3 separate regions of the Homo sapiens genome follow, and regions 2 and 3 are each linked to region 1. Evidence: promoter capture Hi-C in 16 types of primary human blood cells and fetal thymus (Javierre and others, 2016). All regions are on one chromosome and are shown on one strand. Each heading gives the region's core, a stretch centred on a gene start or on the middle of the fragment in contact. The rest is flanking DNA. Distances are from core to core; before and after follow the strand shown.

Region 1 (3,774 bases), core at 1-2,500:
CAACACATTGTCCTTGGTCAAGACTACAACGTAGAAAGGAACAAGCTAATTAACTACTTAGAATTCCCTCTCCTAAGAGACCACATCGCCAAAGTGGCACCATGACACAGCTTGGTGTTTTGTTGGTCACTTTAGGAGAACACCATTTTGGAGGCCTTGGGTGGAGCTGGAGATAGAGCCATGGAGGTAGAATCGTGTCGGAAAACCTGGGTTTAGCCCCATTTTGTACTTGGGCGTTTGAGCTAATCGCTTAAGTCACGTAAAACAACAAGACTAATAAAGTCTGGGATACAGACTTTAACACCTCAAGTGCTGCCAAAAGTATTTAGAAGACAAAGCGAATCATAGGCACCCTTCACCGAGCACCTCCTAGACATCAAGAACCATGCTAGGTTCCCTACATTCTTCATTTAATGCCAATAACCCCACGAGGCAGTTATCACCTTCATTCTACAAATGGGCCCCACTCCTACCAATTAACTGGCTGAATCAGGATCTGACCCCGGGCCTGCCAACGCTCCCGCTGGTGGATTGCCCGCCTTGTCAGCTCGAGTTGGCAGGACGTGGGAGTAAAAACCCGGCGCCCCAGCCTTCACCGTGCTGCACGAGGAAGCTGGCTAGGCAGGCATGACTTTGTCAGTCAACCATCCCGCAGCCGGGCCCTGGGCTTTGTTAGCAGCCACTTGGCGAGGGCCCCGGGCGGGTGGGGAGGCGGCGCTTCCTCCAAGAGGAGGTGGGACCCCGGCCCCGACGACCTCGGAGCCGCCCCCGGCCCCGGATCGCCGACGACGTACGTGCAGGCCTGGGGATGGGGCGCTGGCTGCGAGCGGCGCGCCCGCCGAGATGGCTGCGGCTGGCAGGGCGGTGGGCGAGGCCGGTGACCCAATAAAGCGGCCGGGCCGCGGGAGGCCCCGCCCGGCCGGGTTCCGGCACTCGCCGCAGGGTCCCGGCCGGCGGCAGGTTGCGCGCCCCCGTCCGCAGCGCTCGGCGTGAGGGCGGCTCGGGAGGAGGGTGTGAGCGCGCGTCGCCGGGCCGGGACCCGGCAAGCAGCGGGAAAGGCGGGAGGCGGGAGCGCCGGTCGCCCGGGAGCCGCGCGGAGGGGCAGGCGGGGCGGGGCGGGGCGCGGCCGGGGGCCCGGGCGGCCGGGAGCCGCGCCGCCCGCGGCAGGCCCGGGCCCTCGGCCCGCCCCGCGCGCGCGCCCCCGCCAGCCCGGCCCTCCTCCTCCCCGCCGCCCCTCCCGCGCGCGTCCACCGGCTCCCCGGCTCGCGCCGCTCCATGTAGCCCCGGCTCCCCGGGCGGCCGCGGAGGAGGGGGCGACCACAAGATGGCGGGTACGTGGCCCCCTGTTCTCCGGGCGGCGGCGGCTCCTCGAGCCCACCCGCCCTCCGCCGCAGCCCTGAGTGGCTGCCGGGCCGGGGCCGGCGTGGGGTCCCGGCGCGGGAAGGCGCCCCCGGGGCGGGGGGGAGGCGGGCGGGGGGGGGGCGTCGCGCCGGGCCCCGGGGCGCTGACCGGGCCTTTCTTCTCTCCCCTCGGCGCAGACCTCTCGCTGCTTCAGGAGGACCTGCAGGAGGACGCAGACGGATGTGAGTGGCCCGGCCTCGCGGTGGCCTGGCAGTCCGCGGGGAGCGGCCGGGGAGGGCGGGCGGCGGCGAGGCCTGGGCCGGGCCCTGGCTGGCTGAGGGGACGGTGGGCGAGGGCGGCCCCAGGCGGGCTGGGGTGGCGATCGGGGGGGAAAATCTCGCGTCCGTGAGGAAACGGCGCGCCCAGGTTCCGCTGGGGGAGGGAGACGCCCGGAGTAACGCCCAAGTTCGCTTTCCGCCCTTCGCTCTCTTCTCCCGGCGCCCCCGAATCGCCTGCGGGCTCAGCAGTGGCGCGGCTGTTTTGGAAGGAGAAGCGGTGGGGCAGGATTTGAAGTGGGGTTTGGGTGTGTTTCTGCCCCTGGTGTCCCCTTCCCCCGTCACTCTAGGAAGGAAGAGGCTCGCGCGGGAGGTGTGTTTCCTTAGAGTCGCTCTTCCAGGAGCGCCCGGGGGTCAGCCTGGGCCCCGGCTAGCCGTCTGGGCTCCCCGACCCGGTTTTGGATTGTTTGAGGATGACATACCTGTCATTTTACTTTGGCTGGTAGCAGTTTTCAGATGCTCCCGATTTGATTAGTGGATTACGAGAAGGTTAGAAGGTGTGGCCTCCGCAGGAATTACTAGGTTTGGAGAGCATATTTCTTTAATGCGGATGTTCAGAAATCACCCAGCCCTCCTTCAGTGTTAACAGTGCAGCTTTCCTTTGAGGTACTGAAGTTTTTAAAGAGTTGACGCTTTTATTTTTAAAAAGACAAAGTTTCTGACATTTCCTGATGGCGACGGAATTGATATTTAGAAAGGAATTTTTCGTCTTATATGTACTTTTCTAAGCCTCAGAAAATAATTTGGGTCACGATAGAAAAGACAAAAGAGTTAAGCAGGTTTGTATTGAAAGAAGTGACAAATTGCAGTTAACTTAAAATAGTTTCTATTCTTGCTAATCTTCCAAAATAGCGACCCATCAAAAAATCAATAGGTTTTGAGATGCATTTTAAAAATGCAGAGTGTGCAAAATATATAAGCGAAGATCATGGGATACATAAGGGACCAAGAAATTGTTCTGAGTTGAGATGATAACCATAGTAGGATTGTGGTCTGTTTAGTGGAAAGCCTACCGGATGCTGAGATTGACTGTCTAGTACCTGTATAAGTAATTTCAGAGATGGCTGCAGTTTGAAATTACTCTTTTAAATACTCTGTAGTTAATCCTTAGCATTGTCTAATGTGGTTCCCTTACTCAGAGTAAACTTAATTTTTAGATTCCTGGTTGTTTTGAGTAAAGTAAGGGGGATTTACTATTTAGATGGATTATCTGAAACGAGTAATTTATCTTTAAAGTAAATGAACCACATCCAAACTTTTGCTAAGTCTGTGTTTTTAGTGAGGTGGCTCAAAACAGCTCTCTTAAAGGGAGCAGTACTCATGTAGTGAAGGGCAGCTTTAACATTTTATTTAATGTTTACCTTAAGCCACTTATCTGCCTAATAGTAAGTTTGAGATATTATTTAAGGCATCTGTTGATTTCAGATCTCTTGCCAGGTTAGGATTGGAGAAATGGCCCTGATTATGTTACCTCGAGGAGGGCTTTTTATATTTATGTTCGACTTCGTAAATAGAAGATTCATTTATTCAGCAAGTATTTATGACTGGAGCAAAAACTTCTCACTCCTGAAGGATGAAATGCAGTCTCAGTTTCTTCCTTAGCCCCCAAGAAGCACAGTGTAGAGGGGAAGGCATACCTGTGAAAAATTCAACCATGAGTTTCAACACTCTGCCAGGTACTGGGGATGGAGCTTTGAGAAAGATGGGCACAACCCATGCCCTCTAGTGGTTTACAAGCAGTTTTGAATCTAGGTGTACAGTACAGTATTACAGTTACCACTGGAGCCAGGCTGCTCTGTTTGTCTTAGCAGTGTCTTTTTGGGCAGACTTGGGCAACTCACTTAACCTCCCTATGCCTCAGTTTTGTCATTTGTAAGTAGGCATAAGAAATATTACCTACTTCATAGAGTTGTTCAAGGCTGTACATGAGTTAGTGCCTCTGAAGCACTTGGAACAATTCCTGGTAAACAGCGATGATTATGATTATGTTTGCTGTTATGAGAAAAGAGCAAGGGAAGCTTAAAAGAAGAGCAGAGAAGGAAACACTGATGTTGAACCTTACAGAATGAAGGTACTTAAAGATGCTGCCAATGCTCGC
Region 2 (3,878 bases), core at 582-3,081, 140 kb before region 1:
TTCCCAGCAGAGCCCCACTTGTCCCCACTCCTCTCTTCTGTGTCTGACTCTTCTCCCAACAGCGGTCCTCCCAATGTAGGGTGTAGAGGCAGGAGCTACGCAGAGCAGTGGCTGCCCGCAGGCACCTGCTCCATGTCCCCACTGCAGGCCGGCTTCCCTGCTGGGCACCTCTGGCTTCTCAGAGCTTCCTTGAGAGCCACAACCATCCACCATGCCGGGTGCTGCTGTTTTGAGATGTTTCTCTGATCTTCGGGCTCTGACTCCCAGGCATCCCCTTCCCCAGCCACCCACACTGGTATTAAGTGGGATTACTGTAATAAATTCCTTTTCCCATAACACTCAGAGTAGCTCTGCTTCCTGACTGAACGCCAACTCATACTGACATGCCCACCAAGGAGAAATAACCCAGAAACAAGAGAGGAATGAATGTACTGCAGGCTAAGACGTAAACTCTGGTAGGAGCATGTCAGCTAAACCCATAGTGCAGAAAGGCACCAATCAATCAGAACAGACTCCTAAACTTATACAACTGGAGCCAAGGGCACCATCAGTTACTTCGTTAGGGAGTTTGAACTTTGTTCTGAGGGCAATGGGAGCCAATGAGACCACACAGTGGTGGAATTTTAAGAGGACTGGAGGAAAGCAAAACTGGAAACAAAGGCCATTTAGGAGCTGTTCATTCATTTGCTGCATTTTTATTGAGCACCTACTACGTGCCAAGCATTATCATAGATGACAGTGGCCTGATTTAAAGTACCAGAGTCTATCGTATCAACACTAAGACTCCACAATGACAGCTTGGCTTACATTCCATGCTCACTTCTATAGAGCAGACAAAAGAAACAGTTCATAAATCCCAACCATAATAAATTTGAAAAGTCAGCATCCTCAGACCACTCACAAATATGAATTAATGCTCAAGGCTTTGCCGACTGCCAAGCCAAGGTCCTGTGCAATACAGTTAACTGCTGTAATCTCTTAATCAGGGCACTAGATTACAACAGATGTGATTTAATCAAATGAGATATATGCACACTTGCAAACTGTACAGAGAAGAGCAAGCAGTCAATACACTTCCACATTATTTATAAGCTGGGGATATTACAGTCTGCCCACAACTTACCTGCTTTCCTGACTCTACACTGTTCTAGTTAAATAATAATGGTTTTTGACTCATGATGTATTAGGAATTGTCTTATACTCATGAAGGTTAACTATATCAGGGTCTATACTTGATCGCACTGCATGAGGAAAGGAATGTGGAAGCAAGGGAGGGAGTACAGAGTTTGAGAAAACCCTAACTCCCTATCTACTGCATCCCCACAACTACCATGCTCACATGACCTTCTCATGGTTTAAAGCTTCTCCAATCATCCAGCACTTCTGCAAGTATTTAACAGACATTACAAAATATAAATAAAAGTCATCAATGAATTTCCAACTCAAGGGAAATTACTAAGCCCTCATCTTCAATCTATGCTCTTTGGAGAAAAATGCTAAAATATTACTCTTAGTTTAAGAAATTTTACCAGGAAACACAAGGCAGCCTAAACCACAGCTGCCAGAAGAATCCACGCCACATTGCAGCCTCTGAGCAGAGGGCAGCAAAAGCCCCCACTTCCTCTTCCATTGTCCAGGCCTCCTGAGGTCAGAGATGAGGCACGCTAGCATCTTTCATTCATTCAAAGGAGAGAGGGGGTGTGACGGCTGGGACTGACAATGAAAACAGAGACAGCCTCACATGTGGACAAACCTCCTGGTAACAACCTAAATCCATGTACTGCTGCCATGAGGCCATGGAAATTCAGTCTCTGGTTCCTGGACAGTGTCCTCAACTGTTCCCCAGCCCAAGAAGAGCTGAAGCTCAAAGAGGAGGGCAAGTGACTGCAGATCAGCTCCTTACTGCTATGCTGGATATCACAGCAATGAGCTAAAATTGACAGCGTGACATTAGTCCTCAAGTACAGCCTTAGCTTACCAAAAATGCCTCCAACTCCTCCAGCACAGAAAACTAATCTGAAACCTTGCTAGAGAGTACGAAGCTCCTGCTCACAGAGGGTAAGGCCAAGGGCACTGATGGGAACCTGGACTACAAAGCAGGCACATGTGGCCAGTTGGGTTGAAAATGCAGTAAAAAATGGTGACTAAGGGAAAAGTCAAGAGAAGGCAGTCACAGACATCAAGACAAAACGGAGCTAATGAGATTCCAAGTTCCACATCATGAATATCTATGAATTATTAAGACCACTAATCATGTTATTAGTAATGATGGTGATGATAGTTAACATTCTGTTAAGCTTTCCTGTATGCTAGACTCTTTTCATTTGCATCACCTCATTTAATCTTCAATCTAATTCTATGACAGACTTACTAGTGTGACGCCTTACAGTTGGGAAAACAGGCTGGGAAAACAGTTGGGAAAACCTGGTCTGTGCCTCAGAAACCCAAGCTGTAGACCTCCATACTGTACCTACTCCTGCCTCTTCACAAACACCATCTGGGCTTGCAATCCTGTGACAAGTGCCAGAGAGACAAGCAGGTATGGTAATGCCTTTATTCTTCCACTCACTAAACACATATTCCATGTCTAGGCCACACCAGGCACTGTGTTAGACATTGGAGATTCAACAGTACATACAGTTGTCCCTCGGTATCCTGGGGGCATTGGTTCCAGGACCTCTTGCAGATACCAAAATCTGAGAATGTTCAAGTCCTGATATAAAATGTTATAGTATTTGCATATAACCCATGCACATCCTCCTGTACACTTTAAATCATCTCTAGATTACTTATAATACCTATACAACATAAATGCTATGTAAATAGTTGTTATGCCATATTGTTTAAGGAATAATTACAAGAAAAAAGTCTGGGCTGGGTGCAGTGACTCACGCCTGTAATCTCAGCACTTTGGGAGGCCTAGGCAGGTGGATCACTTGAGGTCAGAAGTTCGAGAGCAGCCTGACCAACATGGTGAAACCCCGTCTCTACTAAAAATACAAAAATTAGCCGGGTGTGGTGGCGGGCACCTGTAATCCCAGCTACTCAGGAGGCTGAGGCAGGAGAATCTCTTGAACCCAGGAAGCAGAGGTTGCAGTGAGCCAAGATCGTGCCATTGCATTCCAGCCTGGGTGACAGAGTGAGACTCCATCTCAAAAAAAAGAGAAAAAAGTCTGTACTTGTTCAGTACAGACACAATTTTTTTCCCAGTATTTGAAATCCAAAGTTGTTAAGTCCACAAACATGGAACTCACAGATACTGAGGGCTGAGAGTACCTTATTGCATAAGCACGTAAGATGCACAAACAAGGACAAGATATAGTGCTAGACCTCAAGGTTTCAACAGGATGGAGTTTTGTTTTCAATTCCTCTTCATGACGCAGAGTGGCAGGAGCCCTGCACCCCTCCTGTCTTGGGTGGGACTACTTATGCCCAGTGGTGATGCACTTGGCACCGGATAGTTTTTCTCGGGCTTGGAAAAGATTCCTTACGCATGATACACTAGAACACGCCTTGCATCAGAAGTTCATGAGAAACTCAACAATGCCTTTTCTTCATCTTAACCTACCTATCTTTTAGGAATTACAGCTCGTAGAGCACAAACACGTTCATGGTTGTATTTGATCTTCTGATGACTCTGGGAGGTATCATCGTTCCCATTTTACACATTAAGAACTTGAGCCCCACCACAATTCACAGTCGCGCTACTTGTAGAAATGGGGTTAGAGCCAATTCCCATGCCTTCATCTCCTAGTACATACTTTCTTCATTGCTAAAAGACCTTCAAAAAAGCTTTACAGAATCCACACTGGACCAGGAGAGGCCTTCAAAAGCCAAGGAAGAAAAAAGCTCAGAGCCAAGGTATCTGTCTCCATCCA
Region 3 (3,755 bases), core at 631-3,130, 190 kb before region 1:
CCAGTGAGCTCCAAACTGGCCACACAGCCACCAGAGAGATCCTGTTTTGAAGTGCTGGATTATGATATTTATTTACACTGACCACAGAATGTATTTATTTTTAACTTTCACTGTGGAAATTTTCAAGCATATCCACAAGAAGAGAGACTAGAATAATGGACTTCCATCTTCTCATCCCCTGACTTCAAGATCACCACTAACACATGGACCACTGGCTTCCTTTCTACCTCGTCTCACCTCCCGCTCCATTCCTACCCCCTGGAGTCTTTTGAAGCAAATACTTGACATCATCTTATGTTAACTGAACATCAGAGTGATTGATTTCTTCCTATATAAATCCAATTGTTTCACTTCCCTGTTCAGAATCCTTCAAACTTAGTATAAAAGCCAAGCTCCATTCTGTGGCATCTTGGGTGGGACCTGGTCCCTTCTTGGGCCCGCCCTGGTCCCTTCTTGGGCCCCTCCCCTGCTTGTCTCCAGCCCCGGCCTTCTCGCTGCTCCCTAAACACAGAGGCAGGCCCACCGAGCCTCCGCACCTTCCCTGACGCCTTCTAGCAGCCTGGACCCTCCTCCACCAGCATCCTCAAGGCCCCTCCCTCACTTCTGTCACACCTTTAATCAACTGCCACCCTCCCTGAGAACCCTTCCCTGAATCCCTATCTGGACCATAGCAAGGACTCGACAAATATTTAATGACTGAATGCATGTAATAAAAGTCAATAACCCTGTGAAACCAGGGAGAGAAGACAGAGTTGTTCCTGTTATTCAGATGAGAAAACTGAGGCTCAGCATGGTTAAGTGAATTGCCCAAAGACACACAGCTCTTCTTTTTTTTTTTTGAGACGGAGTCTCTCTGTGTTGCCCAGGCTGGAGTGCACTGGCGCCATCTCGGCTCACTGCAAGCTCCGCCTCCCGGGTTCACGCCATTCTCCTGCCTCAGCCTCCCGAGTAGCTGGGACTACAGATGCCTGCCACCACACCTGGCTACTTTTTTTGTATTTTTTTAGTAGAGACGGGGTTTCGCCATGTTAGCCAGGATGGTCCCGATCTCCTGACCTCGTGATCCGCCCGCCTCGGCCTCCCAAAGTGCTGGGATTACAGGCGTGAGCCACTGCGCCCAGTCGACACACAGCTCTTAAATGGTGGAAAAGACTTTGAACACAGGTCTTGACTCCAAATTCCATGCATTTTCCATTCCTGTGTTGCTTCTCTGAAATGAAACGTTGCTTCAGTTGATATAATTAAGACACAGGTTTACATCAAATGTATTCATTCATTCAACAAACAGTATCTCACTGTTTGAACGCTCAGTATGTGGCAGGCACTGTTCTGAGCAGCAGAGAAACTGGAGTGTGGTGGGCAGAATAGTGTCCCCCAAAGAGGTCCATGTCCTAATCCCCATCACCTGTGACTATGTTAGGTTACATGGGAGGTGGAATAGGGCTCATCAGCTGACCTTCATATGAGGACATTATCTTGCATTCCTTGGGTGGGCCCAGTGTCCTCACAAGGCTCCTCAACAGTGAAAGAGAGAGGCAGGGGAGTGGGAGAGAGATTTAAAATGCTACTCTGCTGGCTCTGAAGACAAAGGAAGGGGCTACAAGCCAAGGAATGCGAGTGGTCTCTGAAAAAGGCAAGGAAACAAGATTCTGCCCTTGTACCTCCAGGAAGGATTAAGGTCTGCAGATATTTTAATCTTATTCCAGTGATACTTATTTCTTTTTTTTTTTTTAATCTTTTTATGTTTTTGTTTTTGTTTTGAGACAAGGTCTCATTCTGTTGCCCAGGCTGGAGTGCAGTGGTGCAATCTCGGCTCACTGCAGCCTCAACCTCCTGGGCTCAAGTGGTCCTCCTGTCTCGGTCTCCTGAGTAGCTGGGACTACAGCTGCATGTCACCACACCTGGCTAATTTTTTAAAAACTTTTTGTAGAGATGGGAGTCTCATTATATTGCCCAGGCTGGTCTTGAACTCCTGGGCTCAAGTGATCCTCCCATCTCAGCCTCCAAGTATCTGGGACCACAGGCATGAGACCCATTTCTGACTTCTGACCTTCATAGCTCTAAGGGAGTCTATCTGTGTTGTTTTAAGCCACTGAGCGTGTGGCAATCTGTTACAGCAACAACTGGAAACAAAAAAAGAAAGTGAAGAAGGTAACAAGGTCCCTGCCCTCAAAAAGCCTCCTCTTTTTTTTGGAGTGAGGGGGAGTCTGGCACCTTCCACCGGGCCACTCTGGATGCAGAGGTCTTCCTACCACAGGTCCGTGCTCACTGCAGCCCAGCTGCCTCTGTTAGGACAGGCTGTCAGCGCCTCAGGAACAGGTTCTTCTGTTACCAAACAAAGTCTATTTGCTAATTTCCTATTCAAGAGTGACACTCATAGGCTTTATAGGGCTTTTCTACTGTATTTTAGCCAGACGTAGGAAATTAGCTCCATAAAAGAAAAGAAGAGGACAGAAGGGAAAGGGAGTGGAAGGGAGGAGAGGAAACAAAACTAGTTGAAGTGCTTCTTAGATTCTCGGCAAATCCACCTCCAGACCCCCTGAAACTCCTGTCTCAGCGGCTCTGTGTTTTGGCCCCACGTCCTCTGAGAGTTGGCAGAATGGAAACTTGGCCTCCACCCAAGAGGCACAGACAGTGCCTCATAATTAGAAGCTACTCAGGGCATCCCAGACTAAAACACACATCAGCAAAATGTCATTGCCTGACCTGGGAAGGTGTTCATCTAGCGCAGTCACTGTACCTCCCAGAGCAGCCTGTCCCCACCAAGGAGGGGGCATATGGAAGAAGGGGACACGCACTGGAGAGCAAAGGGCAACAGCAGGGTCTCCAGTGACAAAAGAACCCCCGAGGGGCAAGAGCAGGGCAGAAGCCCGTGTGTAAGCAGAAGAAGCCTGTCCACGCAGCTCTGAGGCTTTCCCCTCTGGCCGCCTCTGTGTTCCCACGGCCCAGGCCACATCCCTCACTGCCAGCATGGCCACCTCCCGGGCTCAGGGCAGAGCTGTTTACAGTGTTTCCCTAAGAACTCCCGAAAGGTATCTTCGTATATGAACATGTCCTTCCTCCTTCTCTCCTGTCGCTGGCATTCTGACACCCAGGAGGGCTGTTCTGCACCTAGATTCCTATTTTCTTACAGGACACAACCCCCGCAAATGGCACGACAGTTCTGGGGGCCACGTCTGTGGACCGAGGCAGTCCCTGCTCCACCTGCACAGCTGCCGTCAGGGTCCCCTCATGCCCCTCTCCAATACCTCTGCTCACACTTTGCTTTTGTAGTTTCCAGCACCAATTTTCAAATATCAATGAAACTCTTCAGCTGTAAAGTGCTTAATGAAGGATTCCTGGGGCTTCTCCTTAAAGGAGCTCAGCAGGCATGGCCCTCACCACAGCTGTTTATCTCACTTCAACAGCATAAACCCTATCTTCAAGCTCCAGGCCTGCCTCCTCCCCACACAATCATCACTCAGTTTTCTCTTTCAAGAGAGTTACTAGGGGCATGGAGGAAGGGAATATTTCCCTTGCCGGGATCTCAGTTTGCATTGGTAGAAAGCACAGTCATCCCAGCCTGGACAGTATAGTGAGACCTTGTCTCTGAACAAAAAACAAACAAAAAATATTAGCCAGGCATAGTGGCTGGTGCCTATAGTCCCAGCTACTCGGGAGGTTAAGGCAGGAGGATTGCTTGAGTCCAGGAGGTCAAGGCTGCAGTGAGCTATGATTGCACCACTGCATTCCAGCCTGGGTGACACAGCAAGACC

Evidence for each region. The method cuts DNA at HindIII sites, captures the fragments that hold promoters and counts their contacts. A CHiCAGO score of 5 or more calls a contact.
Region 2: a fragment that was not itself captured here is called in contact with the fragment with the promoter of PPP4R1 in region 1 in 2 of 17 cell types (neutrophils and endothelial precursors); the score reaches 7.2 in neutrophils.
Region 3: a contact is called between a fragment that was not itself captured here and the fragment with the promoter of PPP4R1 in region 1, in 1 of 17 cell types (neutrophils). The highest score is 8.7, in neutrophils.

Annotation. Positions count from the first base shown.
Region 1 is chr18:9,612,035-9,615,808 of GRCh38, reverse strand. PPP4R1 (protein phosphatase 4 regulatory subunit 1) reads left to right here and starts at 1,250. Exons shown (of 20, transcript NM_001042388.3): 1 at 1,250-1,331; 2 at 1,539-1,583. The coding sequence starts at 1,325. It overlaps PPP4R1-AS1 (PPP4R1 antisense RNA 1), which reads right to left and starts at 1,002. Exons shown (of 3, transcript NR_110773.1): 1 at 795-1,002. RefSeq lists silencers at 554-1,063, 1,164-1,433, 1,534-1,783 and an enhancer at 2,054-2,133. The HindIII fragment of the contact is 7,461 bases long and covers 1-3,696 here.
Region 2 is chr18:9,753,574-9,757,451 of GRCh38, reverse strand. The region is part of intron 1 of RAB31 (RAB31, member RAS oncogene family); the gene reads right to left. Among named protein-coding and RNA genes, the nearest start is that of RAB31, 47 kb to the right of the region's middle. The HindIII fragment of the contact is 936 bases long and covers 1,364-2,299 here.
Region 3 is chr18:9,803,261-9,807,015 of GRCh38, reverse strand. All of the region lies in intron 3 of RAB31 (RAB31, member RAS oncogene family), which reads right to left. Among named protein-coding and RNA genes, the nearest start is that of TXNDC2, 81 kb to the left of the region's middle. The HindIII fragment of the contact is 6,092 bases long and covers 1-3,755 here.